4 separate regions of the Homo sapiens genome follow, and all the other regions are linked to region 3. The links are contacts of gene promoters, found by promoter capture Hi-C in human tissues and cell types (Jung and others, 2019). All regions are on one chromosome and are shown on one strand. The core of a region is centred on a gene start or on the middle of the fragment in contact, and the rest is flanking DNA. Distances in the headings are between cores, read along the strand shown.

Region 1 (5,586 bases), core at 158-2,657, 450 kb after region 3:
GCAGGAGAATCGCTTGAAGCCAGGAGATGGAGGATGCAGTGAGCCAAGATCACGCCACTGCACTCCAGCCTGGGTGACAGAGTGAGACTTTGTCTCAAAAAAATAAATAAATAGAAGGGTCATACATCCAGCAGTATTTGAGGGTCCAGCAATATGTAGGGGTGGGCAGACTGGAGGCAGAAAGGGCAGCTAAGAAGCTACTGCTGTAGTCCAGGCAAGACAAAACAGTGTCTGCTCAAGGTAGAGACGAGGGAGAAGACAGGAGAGATGATAAAGCAATAGATTCTGTACTACTTGGTGGCTTGTTAAGTGTGAGTTGAGGGAGAATGGGAGTCTAGGTTACTTTGTTTTCTGATTTGTACAGACACTAAGATACAGAAGGTAGAGGAAGTGGCACAGGTTTTGAATGTGGTGAATTTGAGATGAAGTTTATAGTAGATATATGTGGCTGAAACTCAAAAGAAATGTCTGAGGCTGGGCATGGTGGCTCACATCTGTAAACCTAGTGCTTTGGGAGGCCCAGGTGGGAGAATTGCTGGAGGCCAGGAGTTGGAGACCAGCCTGGGAAACATAGGGAGATCTCAACTCTACAAAAAACAAAAACATAAAAAATTAGCCAGGCATGGTGTGTGCACCTGTAGTTCCAGCTACTTGGGAGGCTGAGGTGGGAGGATTGCGTGATCGCAGGAGTTTGAGACTGCAGTGAGTTGTGTGATTGATTGTGCCACTGCACTGTAGCCTGGGTAACAGTGAGACCCTGTCTCAAAAAAAAAAAAAAAAAAAAAGGTGGGGGCGGGGAGAGATAGAGGGAGGTCTGAGCCAGATATGTGGGCATGAGAGTCATCCTCACAGAGGTGATGTTGGAGCCATGATGTGCCCGACAGCACGTCTAAGAACATATACATGAGAAGAGTAACTGGGCCATACAAGCATTTAAGATGTGAGAAACTAGACCCCATCAAGGAATCCGTGAAGGAGAAGCCAGAGAGAGAAGAAAACCAGGAGATTGTATCATAGAAGCCAAGAAGAAAAAAATGCGTGGTTTTAGGAAGGAGTGAGTGGACAGTAGAGTTTAATGTTGCAGAGAAGTCAAATAAACTAAGGACTGGAGGGTGGACATTGTCACTGGACACCTTGGAGAGAGCAAGTTCAAGGGCAAAGAAGCCAAGCCACTGGACTGAGCGGCAGTGAGAGAGTGGGAGGAGCAGCCTGCTCTTCAGAAAGAGCTTGCTAGGGGCTGGTGTGGTGGTTCACGCCTGTAATCCCAGCACTTTGGGAGGCAGAGGTGGGTGGATCACTTGAGGTCAGGAATTCGAGACCAGCCTGGCCAACATGGTCGAAACCCCGTCTCTACTAAAAATACAAAAATTAGCCAGGTGTGGTTGCGCACACTTGTAATATCAGCTACTAGGGAGGCTGAGGCAGGAGAATCATTTGAACCCACGAGACAGAGGTCTCAGCGAGCTGAGATCATGCCACTGCACTCCAGAAAGAGCTTGCCAGAAAGGTGGCATGTAGAAAGGAACCAGAAAAGGATGGACCCGTGAGGGTGAGCTGAGATGTAGAACTGAGAAAATGTTTATATGATGAAGTAAAAAGCCATGTTTGAGGAAAACAGATTTTAAGTGGAGAAGAGCAATGAACTGAGAATCAAGAAACTTGAGTTCTGGTCCAGGTTCTGCCAATAATTAACCATGAGATTTAGGAAAAAGTCACTTCGCCTCTCTGTGCCTCAGTTTCCTCCTCTGTCAAATGAAAGAGCTGACCTAGATCCAATTTTATTTAGCCAGAATGTTTTCTAATTCTGAGTCTCCTCAAAAGGAGGGAACTGAGTTATTTATTCTGAGAGGTAAAAGTATTAGCATTTTGTTGAAAACATCTTAAAGCTAAAAAGCTGTCACTTGAATTGGGCCATTCTTTTGCCTGCAGAACTCTGGCACATAAGTAAACACACATGATATAACTGCCAAAGTAAATTATGTTGAAATAACTTATAGTCTAAAATTGACAGATTGAAAGTAAATACTGGCAAAGTTTCCTTACTCCTTTGGGGGAGTCCATCAGAAATACTTGATAGTTAATTTGTCTCTGGGGAACACTTCTTAGTAGACCCTCAGTCATTCACCTCTGCCCTCTTGCTCATCCACTTTCACTTGGCTGGTTGACTTTTTACTGAATGTGCTTGAGCGGGTTTCCACTCTACATGTTGTGAGCAAGATTCACGTCAGCTTTTAGCTCTGGAAAGAGAGCAGTTGAGAAAACAGGGACCTGCTGTAGTATGAAATCCACCTGGTGACCACCACACTGAGAAACATGGAACCTCTGACCATCTACGTTACCAAAAGTTATACACAGAAAATAATTTCTGCCCAATGGAGAAGAACGTTTGGGTAATTTTGAAACTACAGCACCTGTTGAGGGACTGTGGAAAGCACTAGTCCTGTCTAACAGTGTCACTTTGCTGAGTATCCAATCAACAGCAATAGTTACAGGACAGTATTTAACAAATGTTACAATGTGCATTCCCTTAAACTAATTTACATAAATTTAAACATACTCCTCATTTGTGTGGATATTCTGCAACAAATTGAGATGCTTTTATAAATTGAGATACTTTTTGTTTGTTTTTGAGATGAGGTCTCACTCTGTTACCCAGGCTGGAGTCCAGTGGTGTGATCGTGGCTCACTGCAGCTTTGAACACCTGACTTCAAGTGATCTTCCCGTCTCAGCCTCCCGAGTAGCTTGGACTACAGGCACACCCCACCACACCTGGCTTGGGGTACTTTTTTGTCCAAAGGATATTATTTCTTTTCTTGCAACCCTACAGAACAAAGTGTCGTAATGATGTGATAATTTTTGCCTACATTTCAAAGAATTGCAATTATTTATTTGTACATATATTCACTAAGTTTCATATCAGTAACATAAGCTTATAAAGTCATACAGTAATATAAAATGTGAAGCAATCTATCATTTAATCAAAATTTCTAAAATTATTTTCACTGCATTTTAGAGTACTCTATGGGCAATGCACAATAAAACATTTGGGAGTCTATTCTCCTTCAAATCTTAACATACAAAATGTGTTTATGTTAGAAAAATTGCCAAAATGTGCTGCAACCTCACATTTAGATAGGAAAGGATTCCTATCTTCCAGTCATAAACAAAACCGAAAACATCAAGCAAAAGATCCTCCCCAAGCAGGTTTTAGCCATTATTTCACATAAACCAAGGTAAATACACTATATATCACGGGGCCTAGTCTCAGTTGAGGCTTGCAATTTCCTTTCCTCGTTCTATCTATTGGAAGAAAGAAAGATAATCCATCCATGTTGGACTATCCTGTCAAGCTAGCCTAAATCACTGCGGGCTGGAAATCTCCAGAGTTTTCTCCTCATGATTCAAAACCAGTACAGATACTAAGACAAGACTGAAAATCACCCTGACACGTAAATTAGAAAAGAAGAATAAAATTCTAAGAAAAGCAGCTGAGTGAGTTTTTGTCTCTCTTTTCACACTGAGCCTGCATACAATGAGGGGGCTGTCATGTCCTACTTGACCACTTAGGGCACTGCCTGGAGCCCTGGCCTGGGAGTCAGAAGCAGGAATCTCAAGGTCTAGCGCATAACTGACTAGCCATTTGCCCCTGGGTCCCTCTCTGGACTTCGGTTTCTCATATGCAATAAAATGAAGGGGTTTTATTCCATAACTGCTATGACCCTTAGCTCTCAATGGCACTGATTATCTCATTTTCTTTTTCACCAACTCAAGAAATAAGTGTCTTAAATTTGTCTCTAACTGACAACAGGGCCAGTGGTGGACTCGTAATCCATGTTTGTTGAGCTAACTAATTAGTTTGGGCCCTGAAAACAAGAGGGTCTTCTTTGGTAGCTATTTGACAAACTGTCACTTATGGGATCTTTCTCTTTCAGGAGGAGAAAATGTGTAATTGTAAGCAGCTGAACTAAAATATCTCTGTGACATTTTGCTGGTGACTCCAGCCCTGTGAGATCTGAGTGGCTCAGGAATCAAATTCTCCCACAAACCTGAGGAAGCCTTTTATTCTTAATGCCAACAGGATGCCCCATGCCCAGAATGTCAAATCTGAACACCAATGGAATGCATTTTATAAACAAATTGAAAAAGGACAATCTTTAACAGAATTGTTGTTCTCTAGGCAGATTAGTTGTGCTTCAAATACAAAATGAAATATTAGAGAACAAAATTATTTTTAAACAGCTAATACTAGTAGAAAATAAAAGGCTGAAAAGTGCTATAATGTGTAAAAGGACTAAAATTTACTTTTATTACTTATTTATATATGAGTTGGGCTCAATTTTACCATTAGTCAATCTTTATCCTTTGGCAAGTTTCTTTTCTGTCTTTGGGCTTCTCATCTAGTGTCAATGAAAAGAGTCACTCTGGGCTGGGCGCGGTGGCTCACGTCTGTAATCCCAGCACTTTGGGAGGACGAGGTGGGTGGATCACCTGAGGTCAGGAGTTCAAGACCTGCCTGACCAACATGGTGAAACCCTGTCTCTACTAAAGATACAAAATTTAGCTGGGCATGGTGGCAGGTGCCTGTAATCCCAGCTACTCAGGAGGCTGAGGCAGGAGAATAGCTTGAACCTGGGAGGCAGAGGTTGCAGTGAGCAGAGATCGCACCACTGCACTCCAGCCTGGGGGACAAGAGCGAGACTTTGTCTCAAAAAAAAAAAAAAAAAGAGTCACTCTGTAAACTATTTAAAGAGGTTTATTCTGAGCGAAATATGAGTGACCAAGGCCCAGGTGGTTGATTGACAGCTGGATTTTATACATGTTAGCGGGACAGAAATTACAGGCAGACATCAATCAATACATGTAAGATGTACATTGGTTTAGTCCAAATAGACGGCACAGCTCGAAGCAGGAGCTTCCAGGTCATAGGTGGATTCAAAGATTTTCTGATTGGCAATTGGTTAAAAAAAGTTAAATTATGATCTGAAGACCTGGAATCAATAGGAAGGAAGGTCTGGGTTAAGATAAGGTGTTATGGAGACAAAAGTTCTTATGCAGATGAAGCCTTCAGGTGGCAGGCTTCAGAGAGAATAGATGGTAAATGTTTCTCATCAGACTTAAAAAGGTGCCAGACTCAGTTCATCTCTCCTGGATCAGGAAAAGACCTGAAAAGGGAAGGGGATTCTTTACAGAATGCAGATTTTCCCTGTAAGAGACAGCTTTGCAGGGCCATTTAAAAATATGTCAATGAAATATATTTCAGAGTTAAATACTTCAGTGTGTTTGTGGGCTGCTATCTGTCCTGTGATGCTACACTAGAGTCAGGTTAGAATTTGGTATCTTTTTGCTACAGAGACTATTTTGTCAGTCTTAAGAGCTCTGTTTTAATGTTAATGCTGTCAGTTGTGCCCGGAATTCCAAAAGGAGGAGGGAACAATAAGGCAAGCATATCTAACCCCCCTTCCCATCATGACCGGAACTAGTTTTTCAGGTTGACTTTGGAATGCCCTTGGCTGAGAAGGGGACCCATTTAGTCAGTTGGGGAGCTTAGAATTTTATTTTTGGTTTACATCATCTAGAAAAAGTAA
Region 2 (5,791 bases), core at 1,335-3,834, 260 kb after region 3:
AAGAACAGCATCTCTTGTCTGCACAATCCCTCAGCGGCTCCGCTGGGGACTTTGCTGCACTCAGTTTTTCTCACCTGCAACTTGTCAGACAGCATTCTCTTTTTGTCTTCATCGCTATTTTCATCAGAATTTGGAAGGAGCTATAGCTTATAAACACAAAATGGCAAAACAAAAAAATTTTAAAAAGAATTTGGAAGTGGCTGGATTTAGGACTGCTGGGTTGTTTCTTAGGTTCCTAACTTTGGGGTGACTTATTTTGAAAGTCACTTTATTGGGGCTATTCCCAATACTTGCATTCACCTTTGCAGACTAGCTTGAAAACATATATAATATTTGGAAAATATGCATACACTTAAGCAACAATTTTTAAATGTACACTTGGGAAACTTGTATAAAATCTGAGAAATGAATAAAACGTCAAGGAGGCAGAATATTATAGTAGTTTGGAGTAGGGATGCCAGGGCATGGGTTTAAACCCTGGATTTATCATCTTCTAGTTGGATGACCATGGAAACATACTTTCCTCCGGCTTCCAAATACATTCATCTATGTTATAATACCATTAGGAGGTTATATGATGTACAAGTAGGTTACCTGGGAAACAGACTGAATGGAAATTAGTCTGCAAGATTTTTACTGGGGGGTGCTTTTGGGATCTACTCCTTGTGGGGGAAGGCAAAGAAGCAAATTTGGACAGAGGGAGAAACTGGGTTGCAATTTAGTCTCATCAAAGGCCTCAGCTAACCCCATGAGAAGCTCTGAGCTTGTAGAACCTTTCAGAGTTATCCTGAGTTTGGATGAGGGGACCCTATCTTTAAATTCCCATGTGGATACAATGTCTTTGGGTACAAGCTGCCTCTGGGAAGGCAGTAAGTCTCAGGCAAAGTGGCTTCCTCCAGCCCAGAGCAACTCCTCAGGGGGACTGAGACTTGAGGGCTGTTTGCAGGCATCATGCCTGGCAGCTGGGGGAATAAGTCCTTCATTCAGAAATGAAAAACTGGGCAATGCAACCTAGCTGTCACTACAGTGAGACAATCTACACACCAGTCCACACACCATTTCACACACGCATGGAAGAATAGTAGAATCGACTGATGCATGATAACTTTCAAGTATTAAGGTCATTTCCTTACTTTCAAAGCACAAACAAAAATAGTGCATAATCAGAGAATAATGGAATCATACAAGCTGGGAGGCATTTTAAGGTTTATCTCCTCCAATTGCTTTATTTAAAGATGAAGAACAGAAAAATTTAATGACTTGCCCTAGGTCACGGCAGAGTCTAGATTTAAATTCAGGCCATTGGGCTTCAAGTTCAGTGCCCCCTCCACCATATTACGATAAAACACATTGTAGGCCAGGTATGGTGGCTCGCGCCTATAATCCCAGCTCTTTGGAAGGCCGAGGTGGGCAGATCACCTGAGGTCGGGAGTTCGAGACCAGCCTGACCAACATGGAGAAACCCCCATCTCTGCAAAAAATACAAAATGAGCTAGGTGTGGTGGCACATGCCTGTAATGACAGCTACTCGGGAGGCTGAGCCAGGAGAATTGTTTGAACCCGGGAGGCGGAGGTTGCGATGAGCCGAGATAGTGCCATTGACTCCAGCCTGGGCAAAAAGAGCAAAACTCCGTCTCAAAAAAAAAAAAAAAAAAAAAGAATGAAATTGTAATGGGAATAGCAAATAGATTTCATCTTTTATGCCGACTCTAATGAATTGGTAGTGACTGTCTAGATTAATATGTTGAGAAGAAGAATCAAATTAGAGGTTTAATAGAACCTAGACCCTCATTCTGGGTTCTATAAACTCCTTGGCTCAGAGATGAACACAAAAACGCCAACTGAGTTCAAAATGAGATTTCTAGAGAAAAGTGGACCACTATCCTAGAAGAGAAAATGCCAGACTTGGTTTAAGTTAAGCTTTAAATCTAGCTGGATTGCTTTTCTCTCCATGGAAGATGGTTCTTTGAGTTATATTCCCTCTTTCCTCATATGCAAAGCCATGGTGTTGTACCACATATTCATGGAAGCTTTTTACAGCTATCCTTTGAGTGTATCCAGAAATCCCTACTGATGAGATGAGTAATCTGGGTTGTGTCCTGGGGCCACTGAGAAGGTTGAGAGACATTTCCAGATGCCTGGGTGATTGCATGAAGGTGGGCGAGGGCACCCATCCTCATCCTTATTCCACATGGCGATATGAGGCACAGACTCCAGAGTTAAAGCCTACTGGAAGAAGACTGTAAAATATTTTTACTGTACCAAAAATATAAATTTTAAAAATTTACCATTTTAACCCATTTCAAGTGTACATTTCAGTGGTGTTATGTCCATTCACAACGTTGCACCAGCATCACCATCCATCTCCAGAACTTTTGCATCATCTCAAACAGAAACTCTGTACCCATTAAACAACTCCCAGTGTCCACTTTGCCCTAGCCACTGGTAACCATTTCTATCTCTGTGAATTTACCTATTCTAGGTGCATCATATGAGTGGAAACATAAAATATTTGTCTTTTTGCATCTGGCTTCTTTAATTTAGGATAATGTTTTCAAGGTTCATCCAAGTTGGAGCAGGTACTTGTACTTCATTGCTTTTTAAGGCTGAACAATGTTCCATTGCATGAGTAGACCACATTTTGCTTATCTATTCATCTGTGGATGGACACTTGTGTTGCTTCCCTTTTGGCTATTGTGAATAATGCTGCGACGAACGTTGGTGTGGGAATAATACTTTTTGCACCCAGTTCCTGCTTGAAAGCTTAGAATCATGACCTCCTTAGAGGCTACGTAGCACAGCTTCTCATGTTGTAGAGAAGGGAACGATGGCCCAAAAACACCAAACCTCTCGCCAGTGGCAGCCCTAAAAGAAGGCACCAAGGCCACAGCATCTAAAATGTGGGTTCACCATTTGGTTGAATCTTGGTAAAATGAATTCACCATTTTCGACAATCCATGTTCAGCACGGTTTCTGGCAGATAGGTATCATATGTCTTTAAAATAACATAACTTACTTTTACTAGATATCCAGTTTTGTCAAACCAAGTGGTCCAGTTACGTATTGTTTTATATCAAAGTACCCTAAAATTGCCATAGAACAGCAACTATTTTGTTATGCTCACCAATGCTTTAAATCAGAAATTTAGGCCAGAAACAGTGAGGATTCCTTATCTCTTTTCCACAGTGACCTGAATCCCAGCTAGGGAAACTCAAATAGCTAGAAGCAACTGGAACTGGAACAGCTGGTACTGGAACCACCTGAAAGTGTCTTTACTCATATGTCTCATGCCTGTGTTAGCATGCCTCAAAGCCTGGCCCAGCTTGGACTGTTGATCATAAACCCACAACTGACCTTTCCACATAATACTGAGCTTCCACACAGCATAGTGCAATTAGGGTACTCATACTTCTTACTTGGCAGCTCATGGCTCCAAAAATGAGGATTCGAGTGAACAAGGCAGAAATAGCTTGATTTTTCATGATCTAGCCTCGGCAGTCACATGACATCATTTTCACTCTATTAGTCAAAGATACACATGCCTGCCCATTTTCAAAGGGAGGGAACGTAAGCCCCACCTCTCATGAAGAAAGCATTAATGAATTTGTGGCTGTAATTTAAAACCATAACATTTAGTGAATATTGTCCCCTTGAAGTGGCCCTGTTGGGATGCCTTTTTGGAAAGCCAACTAGACTCTGCCGAATATCCTTTGGACTTGCTGCTGATGGTAAGTCTTCACCTTTGAAGGTAGAGCTGACTTGGGGGAACTCGAGTGATGGAGGGAGATGGATCTCTGGACATTCATGAATCACTTAGTGGAATACCAGTATGTGCTGGGCACTAGGGAGAGGTGCATCAATCTAGGGCTCAATTTTTAGTTAAAAACAAACAAACTTGAAGGGTGATTTCAGAAACTAATCAGATTGTCTTGTATGTCTAGTGATCAAATACTAGATTTTCCAAAGTACTACCTTAAAGCAACATTTATATCTTCAGCAATAACTGTGCCTTCACCCTACCCCAGCCCATGTCTGTGAAAGGTGGCCATCTTGTGGATAGGTAAGTTCTGGTGTGTTTGTTAAAAACAGCATCTCTCATGATTATGTAAATCATACTCTTCAGGGAGGCAGCAAGTTAACTGGACAAGAAGGATGTGATTCTGTGTGTTTTCTTCTGGATTTATCCAAATGGAGCTGGGTAATGGGAAACATGGACTGCGTGTTCTTTCACTCAAGCAAATCACACCAGATCTGTGATTTGTTCTCATGCTAAGGGTTGCACAGACTTCCCGAACACGGCCTCGGGACTCTTGTGTTTTAGGTAAGAATGCCTGTTCTGCCGACATTGGCCCTGGTGTCCTCACTTCCTGTCTATTTGGAGCTCTGTCCTAGAGGGCTGTCGTGTTACTAAGGCAACCAGCAGTCCTCTGTGAAACGTTCCTAATCTTTCCTGTGGAAACACAATTTCTGTCTGTGCTGTGTGATCCAACTTTTTACATTAGCCCATAGAATTTTAGCAGTGCTCAGGTTGAAGAGGCTAATTTCTACCTCCCAAACTAAGTGATACCCCAGAAGACAGACCAATGGGCAGAGTGTACAGGGATGGTAAACCCACACTTCCTGCCCCACCCTAAAAGTACTTGTCATCCCTGTGCTTTTCAAGAGAGCCCAGACTACCTCACACCTTCAGAGGACATTATGTCCTCTGAAGTCTTGGAGATCCACCTCTCCAAGAGAACTGTTTAATTTGACTATGTCTTCAACCACACCAACTAGGATCCTTATCCCTTCCTGTCTCTTAAAGGTGATAGAGTGGTCCAACCAATGTTCTGGGTATTATCCCTAAATGAAATAGGAGTCCCAGAAAACAAACAACTGGCAGTGTCAAGGGATGCCCTTTTCTAAGAAGGCCATCTAGCCAGCATGTTAGCCTGAGCCCTTGGCCTGTTGTGGTACCTCTAGAAAAAGATGTATTGCTGTAATAAGGGCACTGGGGTAAGAATAGAGTCCTGCCTGGCCTTACTCCACAACAGTTCATCCAAACACACAATGACATATGTGTTCATCTGAACACACAATAAAAATTGATGTGGAAGGCCGGGCGCAGTGGCTCATGCCTGTAATCCCAGCACTTTGGGAAGCCGAGATGGGTGGATCACCTGAAGTTAGGAGGTTGAGACCAGCCTGGCCAACATGGTGAAACCCCATCTCTACTAAAAATACAAAAATTAGCCGGGTGTGGTGGCGTGTGCCTGTAATCCCAGCTACTCAGGGGGCTGAGGCAGGAGAAACGCTTGAACCTAGGAGGCAGAGGTTGCAGTGTGCTGAGACCGTGTCATTGCACTCCAGCCTGGGCAACGAGAGTGAAATTCTTTTTCAAAGAAAAAACAAACAAAAAAAAAAGAAAGAAAGTTGATGTGAAGACACATCAATGAAATGTGTGTCCATCTGAATGTACAATGAAAATTGATGTGAACACACATCAGTGAAATGGCAATCATAACACTGACTTCACACGGTTGCTTTTAAAGTCCTTTGTAATCTTTGGTGCATTCTACAAGTTTTATTTAAATCTATAGGACTGTTCATCTTAAGGAAAGTATTAGCAAAGTTTTCTAAGGAAAAAAACAAGACAAAACCCCCAAAAGTTGTTTTTACAATTTAAACCTTCCAAAGAACAGGATAGTTGTGATTCTCATAGGCCTACCTGTTGGGGTGATCAGACCCAACACCAGGTCGTGGGGGTGACAAAGTCCGGCAGAGTCAAAGGATTGAGAAAAAGACAGTTTGA
Region 3 (5,863 bases), core at 2,518-5,017:
GTCTGGGCAACACAGAGAGACCCCATCTCTATAACAAAGTAAAAACAAGTAGCCTGGCATGGTGGCACACACCTGTAGTCCCAGCTACTCAGGAGGCTGAGGCAAGAGGATTACTTGAGCATAGGAATTGGAGGCTGCAGTGAGCTATGATCGCACCACTGCACTTGAGCTTGGGTGACACAGCAAGGCTGTTTCTAAAAATAATAATAATAAAAGTAAAATAACTGGTTTCATGTTCAGCGTTAGGTATATGTCATTAAAACATATTCCCTGTATCTCTGTGTTCCTCCAAAGGAAAAGTGAAGCCTGTCCAGCAGGACTTCTGGGGAGATTACACTTCTGTCAAACAACTTGAAAAATATCAGGATTATATTTATTACCTGTCAGAGAGGACAAAGTCTCAAAAGCAGTCACGTTTCCAGATTTAGCAAATGAAACAGAAAGAACATCTGTTTCACAATAGTTTGGACAAGAAAAGACTTCAGTTGTGATGTACCAGAGGTTTTATCAAAATCTTTTCCCATCTGGTCTCTGAATTCATTTGAGTACGTATAAGAATTATCAAACTGGCGATTGTAACTGGGCCTGGTGAAGTCAATCTTTTAATATTTGTTATGTAATTAAGGTAAAAATATGAGAACAGGAATGTAAAATCAAATACAGAATACATTGAAATAAGTTCCATTGTACTATACAAACAAACCATCCTTTCCTTTCCTCTGGCAAGGGCCACGTGACCAGGAAGACAGTACAGAGCACTCTCCACTATTCAAAGCCTCTGAGTTTATGACACAAGTTAGAAAGAAGGGCACTTAGTATGTGCAAACGATCTGTCTTCCCTGTGCCAGGTGAAGTCCTAAGATGGTGTTTTTGGAAGGACAAAAGGAGAAAATGGGAAAGCCTTCACAGATCTAAATGATTTGTATGATATAAGTGTAAAATGGAGGATCTCGGATGCCTTTTTATAAAAATTACAGATGACTTTAAAGCCTCAGCACTCCCACCAAGGATGACTACTTTGCAGAATCAGATTCAAGTTTAAAACCGCTTGAAGAAATCCTGCTGTCAGGAAGACTGAAACTGCCAAAACTCAGATTCAGTAGCATTTATTCATTTGATATTTGCACCATAACAATTTACTGAACACCAACTGTGTGCAGAGTACTATACTAGACCCTGAGTGTATCAAGCAGTGGAAGAGACAAACCCTATCTCTATTCAGGGCTTATACCGATGCTCACTGGTATTCAAAAGTGGCTCAACAAGGCAGATGCCAGACCGTGTCCAATACATATCAGGTAGCTTGATTTCATTATTGTAATGCAAAGAAGCTCTACAGGCAACATGTGAAGGTAAGAACAAAACATGCAGAGAAAGAATATTATATAAATCTAAGAATTCTCCCATCTTTGTTTAGGCCCAAACACCAGTGCTTCTTATCTTTGGGGCAGAGCTTAAAGATCTAATAGTAGGCACCAGAAGCAATGTAATATATCATTCATCAAAATAAAGACTGCTTTGTAGGGGGATGAAGCAGTAGGAGATTGTGTTAAACGAGGTTTGAAAACAAAACAGTAAAGAAGCATTATAATTGCCTATATCAGATGCCAGTCTCTTCAAATGGCAAGAGGCAAGGCCTTTATTCAGGATAGCAAAAGCAAATCTGATTTAACTAGGTACAATGTCTAATGTCTCTTACTTTGAACAGGTTTTATTGCCATACTCCAATAAACTGTTCATCCATTCACTAAAATAATTTTCACTTTCAAAAACCTTCTTTTGCAAAAAGGCAAAGCAAAACCAAAGTCCAAGCATCGGGCTGTGATAGAGATGATTTAAGCTTTATATTTCATTTTTAGAGATTATGTAACCACAGCACGCACATTCACAGTGGCTGAGCCCATTTTGATACAGTCTGGTCTAACCACCTTGCCTGGCCCTCTTTCAGCTATCTTGCAGGTTTACATCGTTTCAGTGACTCCGTATGTCACCTCTACCATTTCTTTTCTAATTATTATTTGCTGAATAATCCTAAACCAGGTCTACTTTTTCTAGATAGGGCATAAAAGTAAAAATACAATGGATGGGCATTCACTGTGTTATGCCAGGCCCCGCATTTGGGGCAAGACACTAAGGATACCAAGATAAACCAAGTCCGTCCCTCCTGGAGTTTGCTTGCAAATCTAGCAGGGAAGATAGTAAACAAGCAACTGCAAAGGATATGACACATCTCTCTTAGGGAATGCTGGCTGCAGAAAGAACACAGCATAGGAAGATTTAACCTTAAACTGTTTAATGAAAACAGAAATTTAAGTAGCAGCTCTTCTAATCAAATGTGATGGCGGGAGAAAGGGAGTGCAGAGGTGTTGCAGGCAGACACTAGGTATGAAGGTCAGCATTGCCGTGCAGAAATCGAACCGGTGCTAAAGATAAGGAGGGGTGGGGGCACTCAGGACCCAACACACGCAGGGGTTTGTTAGCCATATTAAGTGCTGGGTTTAACCTAAGGGCAAAGGACGAGCTTTCTAGACTTTCATTTCATAAAGATCCCTCTGCCTGTGCTGTAAAAAGTGGACTGCAAAGGAGCAGGCGGGTCTGGAAGTGGAGAGACCAGGGAAGAGGCTGCTGTGGTCAGACGGCTGAAATCAGAGATAGAGAGACGCGGACAGATCTGGCAGACATTTACAAGGTCGACAAGGCTTGGCGACTAAGCAGGAAAAGAAGTGGGTGGGCGAGAGGGGGCTGCGAACGATGTTTTCCGGTTTCCTGCTTGGGTGCCACTTACTGAGAATGGGGGAAGAGGCAGGTGCAGGGCACACCCACCGAAAACCAGAGCGCCGAGTGTGAGCAGGGCTCGCTAACTCCTCACGGCCTGGGATTTCAAGGCGACGCCAACCAGCTGTGGCCACGGATACACAGCCACAGGTATGAGCTGCGAGCACTCACGAAACTCTGCAGGGCCGAAAAGGAATTGGAGTTTAAACCCTGCAACTATCTCTCTGGAAGAGCTAAACCACATTGTCAACCCGGGATAATCCAGGCCCCAGGCATGGAAGGCAGCAGAGACGGAAGCCTCGTCCAAAATTGGAAGGATCAGCCCCCAGGGCGAGTATCTCACAGTCAGCACCCGGCCGCCCCAGCCCTCGCAGCACCGCTTCCCGGGGCCACTCCTCCGCCGGCGGTAGCGCCGTCCGTTTCCCAGCTTGCCGCTGCCTTCCGCCGCCTGACCCGGCCTTCCGGCACTCGGCCGGCCGCCAGGTCTCCCGCCCTCGGAGCTCGGTGCCCCGTGCCCGACCTCCCGGCCCCGGGCTCGGTTCCCCTGGCCAGGCCTCCCGCTGCCTGGCCTCCCCGGCCCGGCCTCGCGCTGCCCGGCCTCCCCGGTCCCAGCCCAGCCTCCCGCCCCCGGGCCAGGTCTCCCCTCCGATGACCTGAGGCCTTTCCTTAGGTTACCCCCAGGTCCCTCTCCCTAAATCAAAAGCCTTAACCCGCTGCCTGGCTTCCCCGGCCCCGGCCCAGGCTCCCGCCTCCGGGCCAAGTCTCTCGCTCCGCGGGCTTCACTGCTCGCCCCCGCCCGGGCGAGGTGGCAAAACAAACACTCCGCCTTCCAGACCGGGCAGGTACCCGGGCGGGCGCAGGGCCTGGGAGAACGCAGGGAGCGGGGGCAGGGCTGACGGCCCGGAGCGAGGGCGGCAGTCACCGCACAGCCTCCTCATACCTTCTACAACCGCCTCACAATAGCACCCATCCGCTAGGAGCCGCGTCTGCACTGCTTCCGCGGCCCGCCGCCGGGAGATGTGCTCCAGCGCCAGCCCCGCCTCCCGCCCGCCCCTGTCGGCCCCTCGCGCCGCCTCCGCTGCGGCCCGTCCCCTAGCTCCCGCCCGCCCGAGAACCCAGCCCCAGGCTGGGCCCCAGGAGGCGCCCGCCCACCGCAGCGCGCCCCGCCCCCGCGCCCCGCGTCCTCACGCCCTGGTCCCGCCCTCGCGTCCCGCGCCAGTCCTCCCGCTTTGGTCCCGCCCTGAGGCTCGGCCCGGCTCCCCCGCCCCGGATTTGAAATCTAGGTCTTCCTGAGAGTCCGCGGGCTTCCGCTCCCAGCGCGGGATTCTGGAGGGAAATTGAGGGAGACTTGGAAACCGCGCCAGGCCCAACGGGTACCTAGAAGGGAGACAAAGCCAGGCCTGCTGCCCAGTTTGAGCTCTGGGAAGAAGAGGAGCAGGCCGGGACGCCCACCGGTAATTTCTGTCTCCTCTGCGATGACCTGAGGCCTTTCTTTGGGTTACCCTCAGGTCTCTCTCCCTAAATCAAAAGCCTTAACCTCCTGTCATCAGGGTGCCAGGCTAGAAATAACCAGGTCCACGCATGCTGTGTTTTCCACCATGTCAGGCTGCTGTGGACGCTCTTTCGATCACAAAAGCCACGAGCTGCGTGGAGTTCCCAAGGAGGCAGTTCTCAGCACTTGCTGGTCACTGGGTAGTCAGAGCCTGACACACAGGCTCAAGCCGCTCACGCATCATAGTAGTGTACTTAATCCACATATAAATGTTACAAGTTAAGCATCCCACAACAAAGTAGCATTTAACATCATGAGGAAAAAGAGATGGGGCAAAGAGATTAACGAACCAATCCAGAGGGAGTGAAGAAGAGGAAAAGAAGCCTGGTTTGGGCCGAGAGGTCCTTCTGCAAAGACGGCGTCAATTAAGCCGGCTGTTGGGAGCTGCCGAAGGCCCCATCTTTTATAGTCACAGAGTCCTGTGGTGAGAACTGGTAATGGAAGAGAGTGCTTGTTTGTGTCCTTACCTGGCTGGATGCGGACTATTTTTTTATTTGTTTATTAAAGTATAGTATGCTTGTTGGCAAATGCCTTATGAAATGTAAAAATGGGGTCTTCTCCTAAGATGGAGTTATTAATGGTTACGTCAATGGTGTGCTATATACACTGCCCTACCGATCCCCTTCCTATTTTGGGTCGTGAACTCATTTCAGACCCTGAAGCAAACTGTGAATCATTTTCGCAGAAGAATTCACCAACACATGTGAGCACGACATTCTGCATCAGATTTCAAAAAGTTCTTGACATTCAGAAGTCAGATTCAGGGACCCCATGGCAGAGCCTGTTTCTAACACTTGCGCCTATTCGACTATAGGGACTATATTCTGCACAGAAATATACTTAGTTTTATATATGGTTACCCCTTGCTGAGTTTATTGCATGCTTTTACATTTTCATAATACATTTGTTTGTTTCAGCCTTTCAACAATCCCTCGGGATAGGAATTCCAATTTAAAGAGGATAAGGTTTAAAGAGGTTAAGGCCGAGTTTAAAGAGGTTAAGTCCCGGCGCGGTGGCTCATGCCTGTAATCCCAGGACTTTGGGAGGCCGAGGCAGGTGGATCACGAGGTCAGGAGTTCGAGACCAGCCTGGTCAAGATGGTGAAACCCTGTCTTTACTAAAAATACAAAAAAAATTAGCCGGGTGCAGTGGTGGGCACCTGTAATCCCAGCTACTTGAGAGGCTGAGGCAGGAGAATCGCTTGAACCCGGGAGGCAGAGGTTGCAGTGAGCTGAGATTGCGCCACTGCACTCTAGCCTGGGCAACAGAGCAAGACTCTGTCTCAAAAAAAAGAAAAAAAAGGGGTTAAGTAGTTTGCTGTTGCTAAAAAGACAGTCACAGGAGTTAAACTCAGATCCCACAAATAAGACTTAGGCCTTTCTTTATCCCTCCTGAATTGAGTGAACACCAATGTTTGACAGTCCTTTTTCTGCCTCAATAAAACTGAGAAATAGGACCCACTCCCAACCTTAACAGTGGCTCTGCAGAGCAGTAATTTGCAAAGAGGGGACTAGTGTGGTTGAACTAGTCCTTATC
Region 4 (6,184 bases), core at 1,363-3,862, 430 kb before region 3:
ACACGAAGGCCTCCTAGGAGGGTCCAGCCCTAACTTTAAAATTACCTGTGCAAATAGCAAAGACTTTGAACCAACCCAAATGCCCATCAATGATAGACTGGATAAAGAAAATGTGGCACATATACACCATGGAATACTATGCAGCCATAAAAAAGAATGTGTTCATGTCCTTTGCAGAGACATGGATGAAGCTAGAAGCCATCATTTTCAGCAAACTAACACAGGGACAGAAAATCAAACACCACATGTTCTCACTCATAAGTGGGAGTTGAACAATGAGAACACATGGACACAGGGAGGGGGACATCACACACTGGGCCCTGTTGGAGGATCGGGGGCACAGGGAGGGAGAGCATTAGGACAAATACCTAACGCATGCAGGGCTTAAAATCTAGATGACGAGTTGACAGGTGCAGCAAACCACCATGGCACATGTATGCCTCTGTAACAAAACTGCACGTTCTGCACATGTGTCCCAGAATTTAAAGTGAAATAAAATAAAATAAAATTCCCCATGCATTGCCTAGTTCTATGTCTGCATCCAGCAGCACCTGAAATCCCGGCCTGATGCAGCCCCGGCAGTTCATCTCATTTTATTTTGCCTGAAGTCTCCAAGCAAGTTCTCCCAGCTCAAGGGCCAGCATTCTTTCCAACAACTCATCACTCCTCGTTATGCAAAGGGAAGAACACCAAGGGCTTTCTGTATTCTGAGCAATAATTCGGGTAATGAAGTGAGAGCTTAGCCTCTCTTGTGAATGCTGAGGAACCCTAAAACAGCATATCTTTTGCTTCCAAAAAGATCTAGCATAGCAATTTTGTTGGTTCATAAAATGCTCAAATGCTCAAACCATATGTTTAGCTACAATTCCCAATGGCTATATCCTTCTTTATATGAGTAAAAGAGGAGGTTTTCAGCATCAGGTGGAAAAATAAGTATGGGTATTGGGGAAAATAGTCTAAATTTAACTCTGAGTCAGTTCCAAGACAGTGGAGGTGATACCAGGTTCATGGCCTGGCATTTCCCAGCCTGCGAATTCTGCTTCAAGTCTGCAAGTCTGCCCAGTAGGTACAAGACAAATCATACCCAAGGACATTTGTACAGAAACATGAGCCTTGCTAGATCCCTCCCTTGTGCAGGGTAGCTTCTATGAAACATATAGACCAAGCAGACTTCCACATCAGTGAATACATTTGGCCATCTGAAAATACAGAGACTTAACACATATGGAGACCTGTGGCTTCCTCGGGCCAGCCTCAGTTTGAAAGCAAGGGTGAGATCTTTGTCAGACACTCACGGGACCTGTGCTGCCCATAAAGGAAGGGGCCCTTCTCTCAGGACAGCACAAGGGAAAACACCCACAGCCGGAAAAGAAGGTGTGTCTCAGCATGACGGAGGCTGTGTGCAAATTATTCCTTGTGCCAATATCAGGAGTGTGGATCTGACAAACAAAAGGCCATGTCATTGGCTTAGTGTCTCTGTGGAGTCTGTAATGGTCCTTTTACTTACTTGAGTCCTTTCTAAGATGGATTTTGTTCATTTTCCACTAAGATTGCAGAAGCTGCACGTGGCGTGGCAGTTTATGAATTGGGTCCCCTGGCAAGGCTCTGAAAGACAGCTGGAGTGGGGGTGGGCTGTGTGTGTGAAGCCGCTGCACAGAGCTGGAGTCGGCTGTCCACACAATCACGTCTATGTGAGAGCCGGCAGCCTGCAAACTGCTTCCCTGCAAGGGGAGACACATGCCAGGGGAGGGCCAGAGAATTTTGTTAATTCTGTTTATCTTAGAGACTGTTTTTTTGTCTGCTGGGGGAAATAAAAAACAAATACATAACTTCCTTGCTTGTGTGCAGTCTGATTTTTTTCTCTCTCTCATGCCCTCATTTTTATTTCTCCGAAGTATCTCTCCCCTTCAGTTTGGGGCATCAGTTTATGGCATTTTTCCGTACATGTGTATATAGTATCTATGCACAAAGTCAGAGATATAAATGTCTGTTTTAGACTCTTTTGGCTTTAGTGTTCTGTGGAGGTCCATGAGATATCAGAGATCTCATTTTCTTTCTGTTAACATAATTAGCAGAGCTCTCTCTGTGCTCAGAGTGCATAGCTGAGTCCCGCATAACCAGCAATAACAGTGCATTCTTAGCAGCCTCCCTGGATAGTTTGCTAAATTCTTTCTGAGAGCCTCTCGCTGCCTTTACAAAGGTTATAGCTGAAAAACAAACCAGAAACTGGGAATCCAACTCTGTGAGCAGAGAGAGGGCTGCACATTCTATTATCGCACGGATAGAGGCTCAGGTTCATGCAGTCGCGTTTGGAGTCCTGGCAATTTCAGATGAAGGCCGTCCTTAGGAAAATCAGCTATCCCAAGCCCAGGCAGTCTGGGTTAGCCGAGGTTTTTGTTTGTTTTGTGGAGTTTTTGCTGGTTGGTCTTTTGTAGATGCTGCAAATCACAAATGGGGAACCTGAACGACACAAGCTTTTTCTTCTCCGTATCATTTTACCTGGCCAAAAAGGCAAAAGAAGGGGAAGGTGGCATTGCTAAGTCACAGGGAAGGATATGACCTAAACATCCCCCCTTCCCCAAGTAATCCGGGAGCACCACTCCCCTCTGAGGACCCCACAGGTACTTTCACAGTCCAACACACTGAGAAACAAGCCCACAGGGTGCCAGGATGACATGACCACAGAGAAAAGGGACAGAAGGAGTTTGGGACACATGCACGGACACCTGTTGCTTTTGCAGACTTGAACTTAGAAAATATGAGCCTCATTAGAATTTCTCTTTCTAAAATAAACGACCACTTTTAATATCGTCAAATATCATGTACTGCTATAGTTCTCTGTCCTCCGCACTGAGAATCCAAAACAGGTCCTTGGGATAACTTTTGGGAAACAATACCGCCACGAAAACAAAAGTCTTCTCAGCCAAGAACACAGATTTTTTTTATCTACCTTTGATGTCCCAAAGGACTAGAGAATCCAGAGCATTTAAATAAGACTCCAATGCCAGGAGCTCACTGTTCCCTGCTGGATGCCAGCCCTCCCCTCCCTGCCCAGAAGAGGACATGGTACTCACCAGTCATTAGGGTATAATAATTGGGATACGAGAGACTAGGGAAGTCTGGAGTCAAGTAATCCACTTTTACTCCCCTGCTCACAATCTCTTTGAAACCAGGCAATGACTCCAGCGCCTCATCACTGATGTAGTCTGAGCGAAAACCATCCAGCAGAAACACCAGCAGCTTCCGGCGGGCAGAGGCTGGCTGGGCCAGGCCCAGGGCAAGGGCCAGCAGGAGGGTCCCAAGCTTCACTGCCATGCTGCCAGGAGCCTGCCAGAGCCCGGCTGGCACAGCTGTCGCCTTGCAAAGACTGAGGATGGAGAATCTGTAGCTATTCTCTCTTCCAGGGGCTGGACCTTGAGCCGCTGGCCTTCCTGAGTCAAGTTCACTTGCAGAATTTAAAGGAACAGCACCCCCTTTTCCACACATCTATGCTCACCCTTTACTAGAAAGTCCAGAGACCGACTCCTTCAGATAAACTGGGTTCCAAACAACCCAGAATTAACACCAGGGGAGAGAGTTCAAACTTATTATTTTTGGTGAACGTTCCAGAAATACAAGCACCCACAGAGGTGGAATTTTAGAAGATGACAAAGTCAACACTAACTTTGCAGTTGAGCTAACCAAAGGGAGGAACCAAGGAAAAGGGCAAGATTTTAATTTGCTGTTATCCCACATCATGGCCTCATTTAAACTCTTTTTCACTTAGAATTTAGTAACGCAAACCTCTGGACTCAGTGCATAAACAGGAAACAATACGTTTCGGTGGGCCCATTTGTAAACTTCCCAGCTGTGTCTCTGTAGACACAGCACTTAAAAAAGTTATTTGTCTATGTCTTGGCCACTTATGTTTTTATATGCAGTGTTATTATTTGTTATTATTTTATTTTTCAAATGTGATTTAGCTGCTGGTGCCCATAGGAGGAGGTGGTTCGTAGAAGAGCCCTAGAGCCAATGAGAAGCTTCCAGAGTTGGACAATGGGAAATCATTACTGGCAGAATGGTCTGAAGCAGCATTGCCCCAGGAGGATGGAAATGAAATAGAGAGCTGGAGATTGAGAGCTTGAGATGGAAAAGCAGAGCTAGAAATTACCATGCAGGCTTTGGGACCGAGAAGACTAGGCGGAGTGGAAAATAGGAGGAGGTTAGTGACAGGGAGGCAGATGTGAGCTGGGGAGCAGACAGAGTTAGCACAAAGTACCCAGAGTCCAGGGGTTCCCTAGAGTGGCTCCGTCATGCTACATAAAATTAAACAACACAATTCATGTGAAGGCTTATAAAACATGGCTGAGTGCAGTGGCCCACTTTGGGAGGCCAAGGTGGAAGGATTGCTTGAGGCCAGGAGCTTGAGACCAGCCTGGGCAACACAGCAAGACCCCATCTCTATAAAAAATTAAAAAATTAGCTGGGCCTGGCGGCACGTGCCTGGTCCCAGCTACACAGGAGGCTGAGGTGGGAGGATTGTGTGAGCACAGGTGGTCATATCTGCAGTAAGCTGTGATTGTATCACTGCACTCCAGGCTGGGCAACAGAGTGAGGCCCTGCCTCAAAAAAAAAAAGACATAAAACATGCATGGTCCATAGCAAGTGTTGAACAAATGTTAGATGTTATTCGCATTATAACATTGCTTGTCTCCTGAGGAAACTTGCAGGCTCTGGGCAAACTTTCCAGGGAAGGAAGATAGACACCAGCCACACCAGCCACTCTCAGTCAACCCCAAAATCCCTCTTCCACCTCTGCCCTCTGCTTGTGTCTTTTCTCCTTCTCTTTTTCTGTTGTATTTGAGTCAAGCCCAAACACAGGATCACCATGTCACTTTTTAAATTATGCTGCAAAAGAGAAACACATTGGCCAAATTACCACTCCCCTCTCAGGGGACTTGGCCAAGGATCAGAATTCTTTTTTCCAATAAGAGGTAATGCTTTTTATAATTAAATTTAAATTTTTTTCTTATTAAAAAATAAGGAAAAGGGGAGTTTATCCTAAAAGGTTGTTACTTTGAAAACAATGTTATTCTTTTTTCTTTGAGCTGTGTGGTATTGTTGCTATAAACAGAGAAAAAGAAAAGAGAGAAGAAAGAGGAAAGGAAGGAAGAAAGAAAGAAAAAGGAAAGAAAGAAAAGTAAACGAAGGAAGGGAGAAAGAGAAAGAAAGGGAAGGGAAGAAAAGGGAAGAAGGAAAGAGAACAGAAGGGAAGAGAAGAAAGGAAGAAAAGGGAGGAAGGGAAGGAAAGGGGAGGGGAAGGAAGGGGAGGAAAGGGAAGGGAGGGAAAGGAAGGGAAGGGAAAGGGAAAGGGGAAGGGAAGGAGGAAAAAAAGAATAGAAGGGAAGAAGGGAAAGGAAGAGAAAAAGGGAAGAAAAGCGAAGAAGGGAAGGGAAGGGAAGGGGAGGGGAAGGGAAGGGAGGGAAAGGAAGGGAAGGGAAAGGGTAAGGGGAAGGGGAAGGGAAGGAGGAAAAAAGAATAGAAGGGAAGAAGGGAAAGGAAGAGAAGAAGGGAAGAAAAGCGAAGAAGGGAAGGGAAGGGAAGGGAAGGGGAGGGGAAGGGAAGGGAGGGAAAGAAGGGAAAGGAAAGGGAAAGGGGAAGGGGAAGGGAAGGAAAAAAAAGAATAGAAGGGAAGAAGGGAAGGGAAGAGAAGAAGGGAAGAAAAGCGAAGAAGAGAAGGGAAGGAAAGGGGCGGGGAAGGGAGGGGAGGGGAGGGAAGGGAAGGGAAGGGAAAGGAAGGGAAGAAGGGAAGAAGAGAAGGAAAGGGAAGGTGAGGGGAATGGAAGGGAGGGGAGGGAAGGGAAGGGAAAGGAAAAAGGGAAGAAGGGAAGAAAAGGGAAGAAGGGAAGAGAAGAGATGGGAAGAAGGGAAAGGGAGGGATGGGAAGAAGGGAAAGGGAGGGATGGGAAGAAGGGAAAGGGAGGGAAGGGAAGAAGAGAAGAGAAGGGAAGGGAAAGGGAGGAGAGGGAAGGGAAGGGAAGGAGAAGGGAGGGGAGGGGAGGGGAAAAGGCAGATGCAGCCTGATGGGTTGATGGGCCTCCTAGACACTGAACATCACATGTGCTAGAAGGAGAACTTCTTCCCCTGGTGAGGGCCCATGGAGGTAGGAGGCCCAGATAGCTGTGCTCTGTGAGTTCCTGAGAGG

The links. Contacts are between HindIII fragments. The study calls those that stand out against the background at their distance.
Region 1: a fragment that was not itself captured here is called in contact with the fragment with the promoter of CASP3 in region 3 in 1 of the 25 tissues and cell types used here (lymphoblastoid cells).
Region 2: a contact is called between a fragment that was not itself captured here and the fragment with the promoter of CASP3 in region 3, in 2 of the 25 tissues and cell types used here (liver and lymphoblastoid cells).
Region 4: a fragment that was not itself captured here is called in contact with the fragment with the promoter of CASP3 in region 3 in 2 of the 25 tissues and cell types used here (dorsolateral prefrontal cortex and spleen).

What each region holds. Positions count from the first base shown.
Region 1 is chr4:185,102,974-185,108,559 of GRCh38, forward strand. LINC02436 (long intergenic non-protein coding RNA 2436) reads left to right here. Exons shown (of 6, transcript NR_174108.1): 6 at 3,934-4,275. Among named protein-coding and RNA genes, the nearest start is that of SLC25A4, 37 kb to the right of the region's middle. The HindIII fragment of the contact is 6,305 bases long and covers 1-4,560 here.
Region 2 is chr4:184,903,373-184,909,163 of GRCh38, forward strand. No RefSeq gene overlaps it. Among named protein-coding and RNA genes, the nearest start is that of LINC01093, 6.8 kb to the left of the region's middle. The HindIII fragment of the contact is 5,170 bases long and covers 1-5,169 here.
Region 3 is chr4:184,645,680-184,651,542 of GRCh38, forward strand. CASP3 (caspase 3) reads right to left here and starts at 3,768. Exons shown (of 8, transcript NM_004346.4): 1 at 3,716-3,768; 2 at 2,786-2,952. PRIMPOL (primase and DNA directed polymerase) reads left to right here and starts at 4,059. Exons shown (of 14, transcript NM_152683.4): 1 at 4,059-4,229. RefSeq lists silencers at 3,276-3,485, 3,496-4,075. The HindIII fragment of the contact is 11,001 bases long and covers 768-5,863 here.
Region 4 is chr4:184,214,505-184,220,688 of GRCh38, forward strand. ENPP6 (ectonucleotide pyrophosphatase/phosphodiesterase 6) reads right to left here and starts at 3,369. Exons shown (of 8, transcript NM_153343.4): 1 at 3,075-3,369. The coding sequence starts at 3,315. The HindIII fragment of the contact is 5,376 bases long and covers 1-5,300 here.